Regions from separate parts of the Homo sapiens genome. Here all the other regions are linked to region 2. The links are contacts of gene promoters, found by promoter capture Hi-C in blood cells and fetal thymus (Javierre and others, 2016). All regions are on one chromosome and are shown on one strand. Each heading gives the region's core, a stretch centred on a gene start or on the middle of the fragment in contact. The rest is flanking DNA. Distances are from core to core; before and after follow the strand shown.

Region 1 (2,700 bases), core at 23-2,522, 380 kb after region 2:
ACTGCTATCTTATAATGCATGTTTTGTTGTGAGTTTTTTCTTTTAAGGCATCCCAAGATGGCTTTCCAAGGCTAGTGTTGTCTCCTATAGAGGAACGAGTTTCCTTAAGATGAATCACTGGATACATGAGATATTACTAGTCTTTTCTTTGGAGTATAAACTTGGAAGGAATAGACAAGATGGGAAGATATTTTAAATCATCTTAGGACAAAGTAAAATGGGGAACTAAGAAGTCTGGAATCTCTAATATCTAGCAGTATGGCATTTTGAATAAGTCATTTAATCACTCAGTTTCAATTTCTTCACATGTAAAATAAAGATAAATACCCATAAACCATAAAATGGAATGTTTTGAAGATAAAGATAACACAGGGAACAGCACAGTACAGTATGCAACACATAGAAGATGCTCAATAAATATTAGCTGAAATGGTTGCTGATTTCCTCATTTGTAAAGTGGGGATGATAGGACTTACATGGTTATTAAATGAAATAATCTATGTAAACTCTTTAACATGGTGCCAGGCACACAGTAACCACTCAATAAATGTTTGTTATTATGGTTATTATTAGTCTAGTTATTTGTTAACTCTCTTATCTCTGCTTTCAGCAATGAATCAGAAGGAGGAACGTGGGAAAATGCTGAGAGGGATACCTTCTATGAGATATTATGTGCTGAATTCCTCTACTGGCTCCAGAAGCTGGTGAGAAAATTAGCACAAAAATACATCTGGCATTTTAGCCTCTTCCGAGATGTATGCACAGAGGTATTCTGGCTATTACGTGAGCAACACTCTACTTTGAAGTCTAAACACTTTATTTAAATATTATATTTTCCTTCATTAAAATAGCTATCTTTTAATTGTTTTTTGTTTATATCTCAAAATATGGGTCAGCATTCACTGAACTTTTCATCTAAAATACATTTGATACTAATTTTTCCAACTGGAAATTAGGATATTCCAATATCCAAAGTATTACAAAATCCAGGCTCAATCTTTACCATTATTTTACTACTAGAATGCCAATATTAGGTTTTCTTTTCTTTCTTTCAATTTTTTTTTCCCCATAAGAAGTGCTGCTTTGCTTTGCCACAGGGGGAAAATGAAGGAAGCAGGGAAAATGACTTTAAATATGCAACCTTCAGGCAGCTATCAGTTTCCAAACTTAAAAAAAAAAATTTTGTACACAGCCAGTTTAGAGTTTGTTGGATTCCCAGATGTATGCCCTGACTCCATTTTTCACAAAAGGTAATTTTATATTTTAATATGATGGTGTTCCTGGCAACACTGCATGTTATATTTGAAAAAAGACCAACAAAAAGCAAGGGCCATATAATTGTATGAGATGCCACACAGTAGGCTTTTAAAGAAGAAATCCCCTTAATTATGTCTTTGAGGGTCTGAGCACCAAAATGCAGGGAATTGGTGGTACTGAATGCACACTTTGCATAGAAAAGACATTTCTCTAGAGAAAAACAGACTTTGCAGATAGGCATGTAAAGTTTCAAAGCACAGGTTCTTCTAGGTTCCTATTAGCTTCATACATGAAAGCAATAACCCTCAGAAGTTAATATGCTTCTCAAGTACCTGAAGTTACTTCTTAGGAAGGAAGTTGCCTGGGCCATACCTCCAGAGATTCTGATCTGGTCGATTATCATTGGCACCCAGGAAGCTGTGTTTTTTTTAGTAGGCACCCAGGCACTACTGATGCAAGTTTTTACCCACTTTCAGAGGCATGCTCTTCACAGCACCATATCACCACCTTCCAAAGTTTTCCCAGGATACCCTCTTCGCTTGTCAGTCCTCACTAATGTACAGTTATCTGCCAACATCATTACAGATGGCACTGCTTTGGCAGTTGGCTCCATGTTGAGGGCAAAAGCCAACCTCTGTCTTCAGAGTATAAACTTAAGAGATGTTCCAATTCAACTTTCAGTTCTGTTTTCTAGACTAGAAGTCAATTGGCATAATTAAACACTTTATCTTTAGCATGTGATAATGAAAAAAAGTAAAGGATTTGACTTTATACTGCCCTTCAATTGGACTGATTCCTTAACCTCTCTGGACCTCAGTATACTTATTTGCAAAATGGGAAAAACAGTACTTACCCCGTAAGATAATTATGAAGATCAAATGAAGTGTATGCCTGGATCACAGAAGGCAACAAACAGTTGTCCGCCTTCTCAGCAAATTTATCATTAGGGTTTCTAGAAGGCACACAATTAACCTACTTGAGTTTCACCTTTTTTCCCATAGCTTTTTTTTTTTTGAGATGGAATCTTGCTCTGTGCCCACGCTGCAGGGCAGTGGCACGATCTCAGCCCACTGCAACCTCCGCCTCCTGGGTTCAAATGATTCTCCTGGCTCAGCCTCCCAAGTAGCTGGGACCATAGGTGCAAACCACCACACCCGGATGATTTTTGTATTTTTAGCAGAGACAGGGTTTCACCTTGTTGGCCAGGCTGGTCTCAAACTCCCGACCTCAGGTGATCCGCCCACATATGCCCCCCAAAGTGTTGGGATCATAGGCATTAGCCACCGCGCCCAGCTGAGTTTCACCTTTTAAGTGGGCCTACTGCATGGCGGAGGAACACAAGGGTAGAAAGGTGGTCAAAGGAGAGTTACAGAAAGTGGGGGGAAAAACATGAAGACTTGATCATCTCAAACTGAATAAACAATACAAGTAGGTAAAAGATGA
Region 2 (2,700 bases), core at 170-2,669:
CCGGCGGGCGGCGCGGGCGGGCGGGCAGCGGGCGGGGGCCGGGCGCGGAGGCACTTACGGTTCGGGCGGTGGGCGAGAGCGATCCGTTGGGGAGGTAGGGGCTCGTCAGGTCGGGGATCATGATGAAGGGGTAGCCGGGATACGGTGGCCCCTTAAAGAGCCCTCCATCTTGCCTCTTGGCCGCTAACATGGCGGGGCGGCGAGGGGACAGCGGCGGCCGCGCGGAGCGGGAGAGAGTGAGGAGAAACTTTTTAGAAAGTGCCCCGAGGGGCCGGGCGCCCCGACCGGGCCGGCGCAGGGCCAGGCCGAGCCGGGCGCGGGGCCGGGGCGCGCGGGGCGGCCGGCCCGGGGGGCGGCTCCGGGCGGCTGCGGGGCGCGCGGGGCGTACTCACCTTCTTCCAAACTTTCCCGGGATTTGTCTCGGAAACTTTCGGAGCGAGGCGGAGGCCGTCTTTCCGCCTTCCCAGAGGGGTGGAGGTGGGGAGGGCGAGGGGCAAACGCCACGCAGAAGGGGGAGAAGGGGGAGAAAAAGAATCGGCGAGGTCGAGGGGGGGGTAGAAAAAAACAGGGTTACAAGTTTTTGCAATGGTGGCACCGTACGCACACGCCGCCCGCCGGGCCCCGCCGCCGCCCCCAGCCCCGATTTCTCCCCTTTCAGCAACATTTGCCAAGCCCAGGAAACAGATAAAAAACCCCACCAGCCCGAGGGGCTTTTCCTACCTCGGAATCGGAGGAGCTGTTTTGATTCGTTTCTGATTCATTGACTAGAGACGATTTGACATCAGCTAAATCCCTCTCTGCCGAGGAGTTTTCGGAGCTCTTCTCCTCCTGTTCGCCCTCGTCTTTGAAGGAAATCAGTTCGTCGTTGGCGCCTAGGTCATCCCCTCCACCGCCGTTCAGCTGCGGCATTTTTTTTTCACCCACCAGCAGCAATTTTGGAAGAAAAATGAAGGAGGAAGAAAAGCCAAAAAAAATCACCCCCAAAAAGTTTTGCCCCCCCAAAAAATATTGCAAGAAAAAGACGAGTCCAAGGTGAACTTTTTTCTGCTTGGGGGTCTTTTTCTCCTGGGGAGGGGAAAAGAGGGAGGAGGGGAGGGGAAGGGGGGGGAGATCTTCTGCACGCGTGAGTTTGGGTTTCTTTTTTCTCTCGTTCCCAAGGATCCGATCAATGTGCAAAAAAATAATAAATAAAAAAGGGGGGTAAAAAAAAAAAAAACACCAACAACAACAAGAAGTCAGATATAAAGAGCAAAGGGGGGGGGAAGCCGAAGATACAGGAGGTGCTCGTGCCGCTCGGATTTGAGTGAGTTGAAGTTAGACTGAGAGCTTTTCAGTTCAAAGGCGGCGCTGATTGACAGATAGAAAAAGGGGGATCGAAATCCGGAGGAACGGAGTAGTCTGGGAGCGGAGATTATTGACAGGGCGAGAGGAACACACTGCCTTAATGAGATGCCGGAGGGCGGGGCCGGCCCAGTGACGTGTGCATAAATAAACAGCCGGGGTGGGCGGGGCGGGGGCGGCTAACAATGATCCTTTCGGGCGCCGGGAGAGGGAGGAGGGAAAGAAGGAGGAAGAGAGGGGCGGGGAAGCCGGGGGGAGACGGAGGGAGGAGTGTGCAGGGGGAGCGGCCTGCGCGGAGTGTGTGCGAGCCCGGGATTCTGGGCGAGGGTGCAGGGACTTGCTCCGGGAGGGGGCGGTTTCAGAAAGACAATGCGGGGTGGGAGAGGAGGAGAAGGGGGTGGCGACCAAGTCAGGAATCCGAGCCGAGGAAGGCGGAAGGAAAGCCCACTTGGGGGGCGGGGATGGGGAGAGGCCCAAAACAGTGCACTTTAGAAATATTAGAAATAAGTCTTAAGGGAGGGGGAAAAGGAAGGGTAGTATTTGAGAAAGTGGTGGCTGGGGGAGGGGGTGGGGGGGTGCTTGGTGGTTAATTCAGCAGTGAAATCAGCCACCCTTAGACGGGATGCGACAAAAGTGGTCAAAAGGAAAGATCAACCCTCCACTTTCAGAGAGCTTGGGGAAGTGAAGGGGCTGGTCAAAGTTCCTGGTCATCTACAATGAAAGAAACTATTAACCCATGAGGCCTCCCTCCTCCCTTTTTTGTTTATTAGTAGTGAATCATTTCATGAAATGTTAAGTCCCACTAGGATGGATATGCCAAAACGACTTTTTATGCAAAAAACAAATGCTAAATGTCAGAAACATTAAAAGTATCCTTAAGGAAAAATATATGATTCTTTTAAATGTAGAGTGGTGTTTTGCTTTTTTTTTTTTTTTTTTAACTGACGTTGGAGGTAGTAGGAAATGAGCTAGAGTCAAAGTCCTTTTTGACTTAGGAGGTGAAAAGTTTGGGCGTTAACACCGTCAGGGAAAATAAAACTGAAAGTTCACCAACCCCTGGGATCAGTTGGGCTACAGTGTTTCTCGAAGGGGGTCTGAAATGAAATCCCCGAAAGACTGACCAAAATAATCAAGATGTAGGTGGCTCTGGCAGGAAATTGCTAACCAAACCGATGCTAGAAGACCTTCGGGAGAAGATGGGAAACCTGGGGCTTGAGGCAGGTATTTGTTGACTTTTAGGTATTAGAGGAGGAGCAGACTGATTTGCTACAAAATGGGGAATGGAATTATGTTAAAGAGGAAAGACCCAGCTCCCAAAACACAATGTTCCTGGGTGATAGAGCAAGAAAATTCATTTTT
Region 3 (2,700 bases), core at 78-2,577, 350 kb after region 2:
GACACAGGAAAATGCTCAGGGGGAAACAGTGAGCCAGGTGGGCTTAACTAAATTGCTTTCTAAGGGGGATGAGCTCATGAAGGTTTTGTTATTGTTACTGGGTGTTGTCATCTACCAAGAGTAACTGCTCTTCTCCTTTACAGGTAACCAGGCACACAGCCAGGCCTTGTACGCTTGGGTGGGGTGGGGGATGGGGAAGGCATTGGGAGGGAGTGGGTTGCTAAGGTGGATGATGGAAAGCTATTCTTTCTTGTCATTCATTGAGCTGGTCTTGGGATGTAATGCCCCTTTTGACTATCTAAGAAATCTGTGAGCATACCATACAAGGGGAAGAAATTTTGGAAATTCCTAGGATATATTTTGAGATCCAAAGTGTGAAGCACTCAGTTTGAAGTAAAACAGTATTTAGTTCCTATGAGGGAAAAAAACCTACTGGGAAAAATCATGACAACTAAGGAAATCACTATTACTATTACTACTGAAATGGTTAAAAACCAAACAAACAAAACATAAAACAAAATTAAATTAAATAATGACTTTTCTACTCAGGAAAAAAAAGGCAATGAATGTTATTGAAAAACTAAACAAAACCCTTCCTACCTCTGCTATATATCAATGGTCAAGGGCAGCCCCACACCCTCAGGATCAAAAGACTTCTATGGGACAAGTCTTTCTTGAAGGGAACAGGCTCTTATCTCAACACATTGTCAACAAGCTCCCAGTTAGCAATGTCCAACTTCATTTGGGTTTAGCTTGTTATACTCATGCTTGCAATTTCAATGCCACATGGCCCAAACCAGCTTCAACAAGTCAGTTCCCCCGATATGGCTCAGTTATACAGCCAGCATGGTAATACAATTTAGGCAAACGATACAATGAATTACTAGAAGCCTGAAAAGAACCCACTCCATGAATCTCCACAAATCATTTATGAATTCAAAATAAAGTATTATTAACAACAAACACTTCTGACCACAGATAACTAGGTGACACAGAAAATGTTTCAATCATGCACTGGGTTTAAAAAAAATTAAGCAGCACATCTGCTTTAGCAGGCTATTTGGACAATAGTTTCAAGTAGTTCTATGTGACCAAATGCTTTTAAAAAATTGATCTATAAAGGTGTTTCTCTAAAGCTTAGGCTTTCATAAAAAAAATCACCCAAATAAGTGTTTACAAAATTAAAATAAATATTGATGTGAACCAGCTTGAACTCTGCTGTTTTACTGTTTGACATTTTGACCACAATTTCCCAGTGTATGCATCCTTTATAAACATGTTAGTAGCTGCTTCCTAAAGGCTGCCTGATAGTAAAGACTTACAATTCTAAGTCCATCACAATGTCTTATAAATCCATTAGCACCAATATTTGTATATTAAAAACATAATCAATTGTGGCTTCACATTAATTGAGGCATTTCAGAATTTGCTATCAAAAGGCATCAAAACTATTTTAGAGTTTAAGAGGTTTAGATAAACATTTCAAAACATTTAAGGATCAGTCTGAAAGAAAGCTTTGATAAGTCTCTATCTTAATTTTCTGAGCTAGTATTATTTAAGCCCTGGACTGCTTCAGCTGAATTTTGTCTAACTCTTGCATATCAATTGCTCATTTTCAGCAATATCCCGGGTATGCCCCCTGCCATTTGTGGACCTGCCTAAGCAAAAGATTTGATAAAAAAAATTTTTTCATTCGCTCAATAAACAGTAAGTCCCAGGCACTGAGCAAGCAAGGTTGAGGTCAAAGGGTGAATAAAATCTAGCCCCTGCTGTAATTATTCTTAATTAGGAAAGGAATATGTTAGAATTAATGATTTAATTTTCACTTTTGACATTTCTATTGCTCATGTTAACTTTAGAAATGCTCACATTAAAAAGTGCATTCTATAAATGGTGATTTAGAGCAACTGTCATGTGAGGAACTAATGCCTGCATGTTTCAGTTCTTCTCATTTTTAATGGCCATCAACCCCAGCACTCAGAAAAATATGGCTCATACTCCAGCCACATGTTTTCTTCAGAATTTATGGAAATGTATTGTCTTTATCTGTATTTGAATAACCCCAGGCTACTAAGGGACCCTAGTTGTAATCATTCTGCTCTATCAAAATCTAAATCCAATTTCAGATGTGTTTATTTAATTTCCCAATGCCCTTCAGAAAAATTACTCCTAAGAAGGATAAAATGTGGACCATTCTCATTAACTAATAGTGATACCTCAGAGCACATGGCATCCCCCATCCCCTTGTCTTACTAATAAATAGTAATATCTGATACAGAGAATCTTTGTTTCATGATGGAATGAGATGAATTCGTATTACCCATTAATTTAAAGGTCAAGGGTTTTACTGGCCAGTCATGCTTATGAAAGCAAACAGGACAAACCTACTTCCTAGGATGAGGCACGGAACAACTAAGAAAAGTGACTGCATACCACAGTAAATAAAGAGAGTCGACAAGGCATTGGTGCCTGGTTGGCACCAAATTAATTAGACCAGACACATTTACAAAAGATTCCCCATAGAAATAGTCATTTAAATTAAAAAAAAAAAAAGTAAATAATTGATGAGTCAGAATTTTAGCCGAGAACCTTCTTAATATTAGCAAAATTGTTTAGGCATAGCAGATATGCCAACCAGTTTTTATTGAACTTCAATATTTACTGTCATTGGGGTAATATTGACTCTGGTTTCTCTGTGGT
Region 4 (2,700 bases), core at 171-2,670, 370 kb before region 2:
AGATCTCAGCCCAGAGGAACAGTGTGGAGGCACCAGAACACTGGTGTGACCGGAAACGTGGGCTTGAATTAGCAAGAACTTGATCTAGAATATCACAGGACGACTCCGAGAACCCAGTGAAAGAACGGTAGTGACCTTCCTTGTACAGATGCAACCACATACGCAATAGCATACGAAAATTCTAATGGTGAAAAGGAATACGTATCCCAGACAACAGATAGCTCAGCACCAGCCTGGTATCCATACTGAAAACAGTATAAGCCTCCCAAATCCTAATCACCAGCTTTTCCGGAGATGTGCTATTAGCTTGTGTGTAGCAGTTGTTGCCTACTTAGTGTAAGTTGCCTACTTAGCATAATTTACATAATGTAAGTTATTTTCTTAACTAAAAAACAATAACAATTTTCTCTTCTCTTACCCTGGAATGACATCCACACATGTTCCAAGACTCGGCCTTTGATTGTCTAACAATAGCACTGCCACAAAAATGGAATTCAAGTGCCCCCGGTTGTGAAATTAAATGTTATTTCACACCCGGTTTGTCAAGATGTTGTCTTTTAAGAGAAGGTGTAAAAATATAACTGTTAACTCTGTTTCATTTTATTGATAAAGAATTCTGTCCTCAGAGTTTTCCTTTACTTTTATAAAGTAATACAGAGTCTTTATTTCATCAATGTGTTTCGCTTTAGTAATTCCCTTGTTTTTATTTCACCAAGTAAAAAATCAAAATAGTTACCACCACTCTCAGGAAGTGAAACTTGTACCGGAATCACTGAGTTGTCTATATTCCTTTTCGTTACTGGCCTCCCGCCCATCCTCCCAAAAGGAGAAATAGTAAGAACTAATAATAACAAAGTCCTAAATTCTGCCCACAAGAATGCAGGGAACAAGGCCGTTGAGTGAGATTGAGTGGCAGATGTCAGTGATTTAATTTCACTTTCTTAACTTGCTTTTTTGAAAAACATCTTCATGTGCGACTTGGAGGAGAAGAAAGGCACAATGAAAACAGACAGCAACAAAGGACCAGCTGTGAGTTTTTTTAAATACATACATACATGGTTGGCAGTAAGAAACTTCCAGGTTTAACAGTGAAGAGGAAAATTCAGTGGCATTTGACATGATCAGTCTCAATGCCTAGAGCAGGCAGGCATCTGGTCCCTGGTTTTCTCATTAGTCGGGTTTTCTGGAAAGCTGAAATGATGGGAGAAGCATAGAATTCAGTTCATCCCAGTGCTATGGAAAGAGACCCAGAATGAGAGTGAGGGGACAATTGTTCAAGTCCTACGTCTTCCACCAACTAACCGTGTGGCTGTTGTTCTGAGTGTCAGGAAAACTAACCCGTTAACAGCATGCAAGAGACAAGCAAGCTAGTAACAAGACAATCTGTGACGACCTCGAAGCTACTCAGATTTCATTGTACCTCCACACCCCTTATAAAAGAATCTCCGCATACGAATATTGAACCTAAGAAAGCCCATCCCCACCCCACAAGTTTGAACCAGAAGACTTCTGAAAAACGCAAACGACACTCCCTGTGTGAGTTCAAACATGTCCACACATTCTTGGAGACATCCCCCATGAGGAAGTAGAGTCTAGTTCTCCTCCCCCTGAATATGGGCAGGCTCTAGTGACTTGCTTGCAATGAATAGTATGTGTGGAGTGATGCTGTGTGGCTTCCAAGACTAGGTCATATCAGCGGATACAGTGTCTGCCTGGTTCTCTCTCAAGATGTTTATTGTGGGAGCCTACTATGCTGTATGGAAGCCCGGGCCACTTGGAGAGGCCACATGTAGGTGTTCCAGCTGAACGAAGTTTGGGCAGTAGCATCCTGGATTGCTTTGTAGCTTAAGGAAAGTTTGGCAAGGCCACTGGGGAGTCCTCCAGCCAAAATTACCCATCAGAGAAGTCCTGCATTCCCCACGAGCACACTGGCCTTAGCATCCCTGTTGTGTCTCATTGGCTAAGAGCAGCCAACGGTGGGCCTGGCTTCAGTGCAAACATGGTAATGAATTCTAGGGCACAAACAGCTTCTGATCACACATGCACTCAACTCAACTGGAGCAAGGGCAGGCCTGTTATCAGAACCATGGTAACCCTTGCAATCTGTGAGCTGCAAATAACCAGTGCTTGGTTATGATTGCTACAGATACACAGTGGAAACGGGAGCATTCAGAGCCACTGTGAGAAGGCGTCCACCACAACTCTCTTCCTAGAGTTACTCCCAGGATCAGTATGGATTTCTGACATCTTATTTTCCATTTGGCTCAGTGCCTTTGCCCTCGATGACTCAGAGGGTGGCATCCCAATGCAGGGCTGAGAATTCCCATTCTGAGACTGACCATGGCAGAACCAGGATCACTCCAATCCAAGCCCTGAAGGAGGAGCCATGAGTGGAGACAGGGAGGCCAAGCACCAGTGCTGACTTGAGAGAACCCAAGAGCTGCTCATGGGAAACAGACCCAAGTTCAGAAGGCAAGGGGAGGCACAAACCTCATAGGACTAACTTGGGGCTGAACAGAAGGGGCCAGTACTGCCATAAATGACTTTGGGAGGTCTCTCACCTTCAGTGAGAGTAGGATAAATGCACTTATCTGGAGAGCTTCACTTTCAAAGCCAAGGAGAGTAACTTCCCTTTACAAACTGTTTCAAGATCAGAAGCAAAACAGGCTACAGGACATAGGAACTTGTAACCTTTAAATG
Region 5 (2,700 bases), core at 81-2,580, 320 kb before region 2:
TTGTCATACTTAACCTTCTCCAGAGATCTGAAGCCTCTTTAGGTGTATTTCTTCATTTAATTTTGGCCTCCTAAGCTTGGTATAAGTAACCAATTGTATGACTTATAAAGAGATTTTGTGATTTTGTTTTGTTTTTATAACTGCTTTGTTGAGATATAATTCACATACTGTACAATTCACCCATTGAAAGTGTACAATTCAATAGCTTTGGTAGAATCACAGAGTTATGCTTCCATCACCTCCATCAATTTTAGGACATTGTCATTACTGCAATTAAAAAAAATTCACACCCATTGGCTTTTTCTGTCCTCCAGTTTCCCCAACCGCTGGCAACCCCTAATCTAATTTCTATCTCCATAGATTTGCCTCGTCTGGACATTTCTTATAAACGAAATCCTACAATATGTGGTCTTTTTGTGTCTGGCCTCTCTCACTTGGCACATTGTTTTCAAGTTTCATCCATGTTGTAGCATGTCAGTGTATCATCCCTTTTTAGTGCTGAATAATATTCCATCATATGGACATGCCACATTTTGTTTATCCGTTCATTTGTCATTCAGTTGATGGACATTTGAGCTCTTTGCACTTTTGGTTATTATGAATAATGCTATTATGAACATTCATGTGCACATTTGTGTGTAGACAGATGTTTTCAGCTTTCTTCAGTGTATATCTAGGAGAGAAACTGCTGGATTGTATGTGAAGCCTATGTTCAACCATTTGAAGAACTGCCAAGCTGTTTTCCAAATGGCCGCACCATTTTATACGCCACAAAGGCACTTTCGAAGTGTAAAAGTTCGATGCAAATGATTATAATCTAATATTAGTCATTGAAATGGCAAGAATATTTGATCATTGTAATAATTTGTAGACAATACTAAGGTATCTAAAGTGACACCTCTCCCTCCAGTCCCCCAATCCCACATAGAGGCAGTGTAAACAATTTGGCATGCAGTCCATTCCTCCTTCTTTCCTCTGCCCACCATACTTATACAAAATGTATGTATTTGAACGTAATGGCAAAAACTGCAATTACTTTTGCACCAACCTAATACTTTCATTAAAATAAAAATGCATTCTGACTATGCATATGGCTCTAATGTCTTCTTTTATTTTTTAAATTATAGTAAAATACCATCTTAACCATTTTTTAGGATACAGTTCCATGGCATTAAGTACAGTCCCTCACACTTATGCAGCCATCACCATCATCCATCCACAGAACTCATTTTAACCTTCTAAACTGGAACTCTATAGCCATTAAATGATAACTCCCCCTTCTCCCTTCCCCTCAGCCACTGGAAACCATCATTCTGCTTTCTGTGAAATCACATAATATGTGTCCTTTTGTGACTGGCTTATTTCACTTGGCATAACGTCTTCAGGGTTCACCCAGGTGGTAGCATGTGTCAGAATTTCCTTCCTTTTTAAGGCTGAACATTATTTATTTTATAGGCCACATGTCACCTATCCACTCATCTACTGATGAACACATGGGTTGCTCCTACCTTTTAGCTATTGTGAATGAAGCTGTTATGAATGTGGGCATATAAGTATCTCTTTTTGTCCCTGATTTCCATTATTTGGAGTATATGCCTTCCAACTTCCTTTTTTAAAAAAAAAAATTAAGTAAACTTTTTTCGAAAATTTTATCACTCAAAAAAATCTTAACAGTATACTAATGGGGTTCTTCCATATTATCGCCTTCATGCACTGAATTGCTGGGGGTCTCATAATCCACCTCATACATTCCCCCATTCATGGGAATTGAATAGCCATTACCATTGGGTGTTTCCCATGGTGCAAAGCTCTGGGCATCCATTGGCTGACTGGATTCTCACAACAATCCTTTGAGATGGCTCTAACTATCAGCCTCTTTTGAGAGACAAGGAAACTGTGGTAGAGAGCTTAAGTCATCTGTCCAAGGCCATTCTGCTGGTAAGGACTGAGGTTAGAAATCAAAGTCTGTCTGACTCTCAAGCTCACCTGCCTAACCTCAGCATCTTAACTAATGACATTCCTCATGGGTTTTTTTGGTTGGCCAAGGAGTGGCCTGGCAGGGGACGGAGGTACAGAACCTGAATATATGTAGATATCCACATTCCAGGAGCCAGGGACTGATTCCTCAACAAAAGCAGAGGTGTCTTTCTACAGTGAGCGTCCTTTCTCAGAGCTCAGGCTTCATGAAGCCTCAGAAAACCAGAGTGAGCTCCCAGCTTCCTACAGAAGGCTACTACTCATGCTTCCTTCCCTTTGACTTCTCTCCTGCTCAATCCTGCCTTCCCCTGACCCTGCCTCCACACTGTCCTCCTCCAGACTGTCTAGGTTCAGGTGACAGAAACCCAGCTCAAATATGCTTATACAAACAGAAAGACTTTTGGGTTTCATTTAACTGGGAAAGTAGGGACACATCTAGCCTCTATCATGATTGGATCCAGGGATTGAAATGATGTCATCAGGCTCTTTATCTCTCAGCTCGGCTACTCTGAATGATGATCTTATTCTTTCCTGCAGTGGACAGGCCTTCTCCATGAAGTGAGAAAGCTCACCACCAGAAACTCCAAAACTACAGCTTCAAAGCTTAACTCTCTCACCAGAAGGCAGGCCAGTTTTTTTCTCCCAGCATCCATATATCGATCTCAGGGAAGGACTCCAATTGGCCCTGGTTGGGACATATGCTAATTCCTTAGCCAATCATAT
Region 6 (2,700 bases), core at 187-2,686, 400 kb after region 2:
GAAAGAAAGAAGAGGCAAATATTCTTAGAGCATTTACTAGTACCCAAACCTGGCCAAGGTGCTTTTAAATAGACATGAGGCCTCATAGTTACTGGAAAGGACAAATTATCTATAATTTTAATAAAAAATTAAAAAAGAGAAGTCAGGTTTGCAACAATGATGATATTACATGATGGGTACTCAATAAATATGAAGACTACTGTGATTGCAATGTCCTTTTGTTGAAATAAACTTTTAATTTCAGAATAGCTTTAGATTTACAAAAAAATTATGCTCATGGCACAGAGTTTCCATTTACTCTACATCCAGTTTCCCCCATTATCACTTACATTATTATGGTACATGTGTCACAATTAACAAACCAATATTGATACATTATTATTAACTAAAATCAATAACTTTATTCATATGTCCTTGGTTTTTGCACAATGTCCTTTTTCTGTTCCAGGATTCCATCCAGAACTTGCATTATGTTAAGTTTCCTTAAGTTCCTCTGGGCTGTGACAGTCTGCAGTGTAAGTGTACTTTTAGCATATGCTTTAGAAATGACATATATACATTTGCAGACTTACAACTATTGTCACCACTTAGATAAAAACACACACAGCAGAATTATTTTTTGTTACAGACCTAAGGAATATAAATTTGAAAAGTGAATAAAGATAAATGTCTAGTAGAAAAGAAAGCAGATGATATCGGACTCCTTAATGTATCTATTAATATGGAAAAGAGAGAAATAAAGTCTCATTTGCCACAAAAACTAGAAGATCACAACCACTGACCTGGCCTGTAAGTCATCTATCCTTTCACTTCTGCCCATTGTACTGTTAATAGCTAGGGTCTTAACTGATGATGTATGAGGCAGTGAAGTAGGCAAGAAATAAATACTTTGCAGAGATAGATAAACTGCCCTCCAACCCACCTATATTGTTCTCCCTCTTTCTTAGTATAAAGTTGTATTAGAAAGTGGTCATTCAGTTGGAACTGTACTTCCCAGTCCCCCTGCATCTAAGTAGCACCATTCAACTGTTCTTGACAGTGGAACACAGGTAGAATTAATGCGGAGCTTCAAAAGTGGGTATACCTTCTCCACTTTCTTTGCCTAGCTGCTGGCTAAAGGTAAAGGACACCAAAGCCCCAGGGCAGGGCAGAGCCAAAAGACAGCTGAAGCCTAGATTTCTGAATAACTACCTGAAAGGGCTGTCTGCCCACTTGGACACTTGCATTACACAGTTTCAAGAGTGAGAAATAAACGTCACTGAATCAAGCCACTGGGGCGACTGGGGTTTATTTGTTACAGCAGCTAGCGTTACTATGCAAATTAGTACAAATGGAAACTAACATTTATGGATCACCACTGTGTTGGATGTTTTATATAGTTTATCACATTTATCTCTCAGGACAACCTCCATATAGAAGATCTGCAAGGATTTTTATACATTTGAAAACTAAGACTCAGAAAGGCTAAGGAACTTGTCTAAGGTCTTACAGTTATTAAGTGGCAGGACCAAGATTTGAACCTGAGTCTGTCTCGTAGCAAAGCTCCAGGCACATTCCATTTTGCTTCACTGCAGGTGAAAGAGAGGTGACCTGACTTGGCACTTGGATGAAAAAATAATTTCTGTGCATTTTATATGAGTAACTTTTTTTAAATCCTCAAAGGAGAACAGAAATTGCACGTGTGTTCTCCCTACTTTTTATGTAGAAGACACAAAGTCCCAATTTACAAGGGGTGGATGTGAGACGATTAGTTCATTTGAATTTGTTAGCATTTTTCAGATCAAGACAACCTTATACAAAAATGCAGAAGAGAGAGATACACTACACCTTTGTAACCTGCTGATAATCTTACAGTGTTTAATTTGAGCAGAGGCCAGCAACTTACAGAGGGCACGAAAGAACTGTTGCTCCACAAGGTTTACAGTTAACAAAAGAGAGAAGAGAAAGACGTACTTGTTCTCACAACAGTATGAATTTAAAGAACTATATGGGGTGTGCATTCTACAGGAAGCCCAAGTAGGAAGAAAAATGAAACACTGTACCTTGCACACAGCAATAAAAATGAGGGGATTCATTGTAGTAAGAAAATTCACAGCTGGCAGGCAGTATCAGTGAGGCAATAAGATACTTGGTCCATCTTCATGCTTACCTTTTAGAGTCAATGGTTTTTTTTTTTTTAAAAGGTCTCTTTTTACAGTAACAAAGTCACTCCAGTCAATCCCTTTGACTCACCTACATGAAAAATTTGGATGTCTGTAAAAGTCTTATGCTAACACTAGTGAGAAAAACTCGTGCATCTCTTAAATTTGTGTAGCCTTCTTAGGACAGATTTTGTTTGTTGGTTGGTTGGTTTGTTGGTTTCAAATGAACAGGTCCTAATCATCAACAGATCTGCACAGAGTATTGAACATTACATAGATAATTCAAAGATATGCTAATGAGAAAGAGGGAAACTAAAAGTACTTATTTCTTCATGAAACCAAATAAAACTTAATACATATTCTGGATGGTGAAAGTAGATGGCATTTGGGGAAATATTCAGGGGATCAGTGTTACTCAGCTTGAACAAATTTCCATTTCAGATAAGGTAATTTATTGATTGATACGATGAGTTAACAGATGTAAAAGTAGTCTGAAAATTTTAAAGCAGAATATACAATGTTATCGCCTGTGTTACCATTGTTATTTTTAGCACATAAT
Region 7 (2,700 bases), core at 72-2,571, 410 kb before region 2:
ATCTGGCCCACTAGAAACAACACCTCAGTTGGCCTCATGAAAAATACCACGCCCGATTTCAACGAAGACACCTTGGTTGTGCACAGCCCCAGGCCCACAGGGTGTGCTTTCCCCTCTGCCCTTCCCACCAAACGCTCCTTTATTATCCAACAGACCAGATAGCAATAGGGCGACTTCATCCTCCTGAGCGGCTCCACATTCCACAAAGGGGCCATTGCTATTTGCCACTCTGGGAGAGAAAGCCCGTCACGGGCCTTCCCCTATGGAGCCCTCTCTCTTTCCCTGCCTCTCCTCCAGCTGCTCCTGGTTCAAGCCGCTGCCTGCCCCGGCTAATAATGCCTTGTCATGCAGTGACAGAATTACGGTCTCACACTGGTTTCACATGTCACAAATAATTGTGCTCATTGCGCATCATATTGAAGTTGTCAGGCCTCTCTTACGCCTATAATTTGTGTGAGTTGATCATACTTTGGTAAATCAGCAGGTCGCAACCTGTGCCCTTTAGCCCCCATGGCTGGCTGAGAATGACCTACAAATCTTGTGACAGGGACAACAGAGAGGGTATGAACTGCTCAATTGCTCGTGTCTATCAGCTGCCGTGGAGAAAGCCCGTTGCTCTCTGCTTTCGCCATCACTTTAAACGGCTAACGCGGCACCCTATGTCAGCCCATCTTAATTTCTTCACATATGTTTTTTTTTCCCCCTAGTTTTTTTTTAAGTACTTTTGGATATTTCTAATTTTTTTTCCTTTACCACAAGACATTTTGGTGCCAAACCCAAGTGTCTTTCTTCCATGTGTTTTAAATAAAAACCTCCAGTGACTGTGATAAAGGGAACAGACCTCACTCTCTCTGCCCAGCCCAACTGAACAGAGCTCCACACAATGGTTAAATCTGGCTGGCAGCTTTATGAGCTCCATTGCTAACACTTTATTGGGTAACACGTTCACAAATAGTGTTCCTGAGCCTTTGTTTTCATTAAGGTACAACATGTACCATCAAGTTGCATTTAATTCTCTGCTTCGTATTTTATACACAGTATCACTCACCGTGGCCTTCAGTATCTAATGCTGGAGAGAGGGTAATGAAGTTCAAGCTGCTTTTATTACCCTGGATCTTCAATAACTGGCTTCTTAAAAAGTCAGTGGAAAAGAAGCAAGAATACCAAGTTCTGTCCAGACTGATGCTCTGCAGAAATGCTGGAGTGATGTCAAGAATAAAATGGTTTTATGTGGGTCTATCTCCAGGGGAGCTGTTGCAAGTTAGGTGCCCAGAGAGTGGCTAGCCTCCTCCTTGGTTAAGAAACAGAACATGGTGTCAATGGCTCCACGATGTTCACTCTGGTGACTTCCCGTTCTTTGGCAAGCTACCTCACTCCTGCAAAGAAGTACAAGTGGGTGGGTTTGTAATTCTGAAAGCAGACAGCAACATCTGACTGCCCATGTTGGGATGTCAGGAACTAAGGATGATGCCACTTGTTGGAGCAACAGCAGGCATAAGGGCAGTGTGTGAAAGGAGAGAAAATGAGCAAGCCTCTCTCTCCACACCATACAAGGCATGCCCATTTAATTTCCAAAAGCATCAACTGAGGGCATGTGAATCAGGAATAATTAGCAGCACACACAAGCAATGCACAGTTGTTACAAAAGACACAAACTCATGTTGCTCGACTGTTTGGATCCCTTTCCCCCTTACATCATAGGCACAGACCCATGATGGTTCTCAGCACTGAAAGGCGTATCACTTTCGATGCAATTTACAACAGCCAATCACCAAGTTAAGGCGGGAGTGGGGGAAGAAAATGTGTCTGGGTCGCAACTATAACCCTCCAAAGGCCCTAGCTATGAGGCAAGTTCAATGCAGATGTGGGTGGTTATGGACTGGAGGTTTACTTTTCAAGAGTATCTTTTTGCTGAGAAAACCCAATGGAAATGTAGACAGATGGGGGTTCAGATCACAGTACCACCTCTAACAGGTTTGGTGACCTAGGCACGTCACCTTAACTCTCCGTGTCTCAGTTCCTCAACCTGCAAAGTAGTTGGCTCACAGTAGGTGCTGAGAAGATCTTATTTTTTTTTTCTCAGTCTAGGTTTTTGTTTGCAAGCAAAGTAACAGTGACAGTTAAGCAGAAAAGGAATATATAGGGAAGATGTGGGCAGCTTACAGAGTCTGAAGAAATGCTGGAGAGCTGAGATGAAAAATGAGCTGGAACCAAGGGAGGTTAGAGGGCAAAGAACATAGCTGACACCAGACCTTGGGCACAATCCAGTTATGATGCTGCCCCTGGCACCACCTCCATTGGCACTTGAGTCCTACCACTGAACCCCAGACTCCAGTATCTTCTTCCTTCTCAATCTTTACATGGGACTGGGGAAGGAAGGAGTTCAGGCTTCAGGTTTTACTTACAACCCCTTTAATAATTTAATACAGTATGTATTATTTTTTGGTTCTTTTTCAACAAAGGTGTGGGGTGGGGGTGGAGAATCTGCATCAAAGCAACCTGATCAGCTTATCCAAAGCCATGCTGTCAATCAGTGACACTGTTTGGAATGAACACACACACACATCTCCAGTTCCCCTTAAGTTGTGTCCATAACTAGCTCATGGAATGACTGTGGGAAAATTCAGGGGAAAGAGTAAAACTCTGGCTTCCCATAGGAGCAGTGAAGACATTGGCTACTAAGTGCAAAGTCATCTTTGA

The links. Contacts are between HindIII fragments. The CHiCAGO score rates a contact against its expected background, and 5 or more counts as called.
Region 1: a fragment that was not itself captured here is called in contact with the fragment with the promoter of TCF7L2 in region 2 in 7 of 17 cell types (M1 macrophages, endothelial precursors, M2 macrophages and 4 more); the score reaches 9.2 in M1 macrophages.
Region 3: a contact is called between a fragment that was not itself captured here and the fragment with the promoter of TCF7L2 in region 2, in 1 of 17 cell types (M2 macrophages). The highest score is 5.2, in M2 macrophages.
Region 4: a contact is called between a fragment that was not itself captured here and the fragment with the promoter of TCF7L2 in region 2, in 1 of 17 cell types (M1 macrophages). The highest score is 5.5, in M1 macrophages.
Region 5: a fragment that was not itself captured here is called in contact with the fragment with the promoter of TCF7L2 in region 2 in 1 of 17 cell types (monocytes); the score reaches 5.5 in monocytes.
Region 6: a fragment that was not itself captured here is called in contact with the fragment with the promoter of TCF7L2 in region 2 in 3 of 17 cell types (megakaryocytes, M1 macrophages and endothelial precursors); the score reaches 6.0 in megakaryocytes.
Region 7: a fragment that was not itself captured here is called in contact with the fragment with the promoter of TCF7L2 in region 2 in 1 of 17 cell types (M2 macrophages); the score reaches 5.0 in M2 macrophages.

The regions. Positions count from the first base shown.
Region 1 is chr10:112,568,725-112,571,424 of GRCh38, reverse strand. The region is part of intron 5 of VTI1A (vesicle transport through interaction with t-SNAREs 1A); the gene reads right to left. Among named protein-coding and RNA genes, the nearest start is that of MIR4295, 64 kb to the left of the region's middle. The HindIII fragment of the contact is 4,295 bases long and covers 1-2,700 here.
Region 2 is chr10:112,948,966-112,951,665 of GRCh38, reverse strand. TCF7L2 (transcription factor 7 like 2) reads right to left here and starts at 1,419. Exons shown (of 15, transcript NM_001367943.1): 1 at 721-1,419; 2 at 393-459; 3 at 59-183. The coding sequence starts at 909. LOC124902502 (a long non-coding RNA gene) reads left to right here. Exons shown (of 2, transcript XR_007062291.1): 2 at 659-1,037. The HindIII fragment of the contact is 8,187 bases long and covers 1-2,700 here.
Region 3 is chr10:112,601,280-112,603,979 of GRCh38, reverse strand. All of the region lies in intron 5 of VTI1A (vesicle transport through interaction with t-SNAREs 1A), which reads right to left. LOC124902503 (a long non-coding RNA gene) reads right to left here. Exons shown (of 2, transcript XR_007062292.1): 1 at 1-2,700. Among named protein-coding and RNA genes, the nearest start is that of MIR4295, 32 kb to the left of the region's middle. The HindIII fragment of the contact is 378 bases long and covers 1,139-1,516 here.
Region 4 is chr10:113,319,295-113,321,994 of GRCh38, reverse strand. It overlaps LOC105378490 (a long non-coding RNA gene), which reads right to left. Exons shown (of 2, transcript XR_946329.2): 2 at 1,024-1,191. Among named protein-coding and RNA genes, the nearest start is that of HABP2, 230 kb to the left of the region's middle. The HindIII fragment of the contact is 4,155 bases long and covers 1-2,700 here.
Region 5 is chr10:113,268,933-113,271,632 of GRCh38, reverse strand. No RefSeq gene overlaps it. Among named protein-coding and RNA genes, the nearest start is that of SNORA87, 220 kb to the right of the region's middle. The HindIII fragment of the contact is 2,505 bases long and covers 78-2,582 here.
Region 6 is chr10:112,552,087-112,554,786 of GRCh38, reverse strand. The region is part of intron 5 of VTI1A (vesicle transport through interaction with t-SNAREs 1A); the gene reads right to left. Among named protein-coding and RNA genes, the nearest start is that of MIR4295, 81 kb to the left of the region's middle. The HindIII fragment of the contact is 5,640 bases long and covers 1-2,700 here.
Region 7 is chr10:113,355,697-113,358,396 of GRCh38, reverse strand. No RefSeq gene overlaps it. Among named protein-coding and RNA genes, the nearest start is that of HABP2, 200 kb to the left of the region's middle. RefSeq lists an enhancer at 1-7. The HindIII fragment of the contact is 3,371 bases long and covers 1-2,700 here.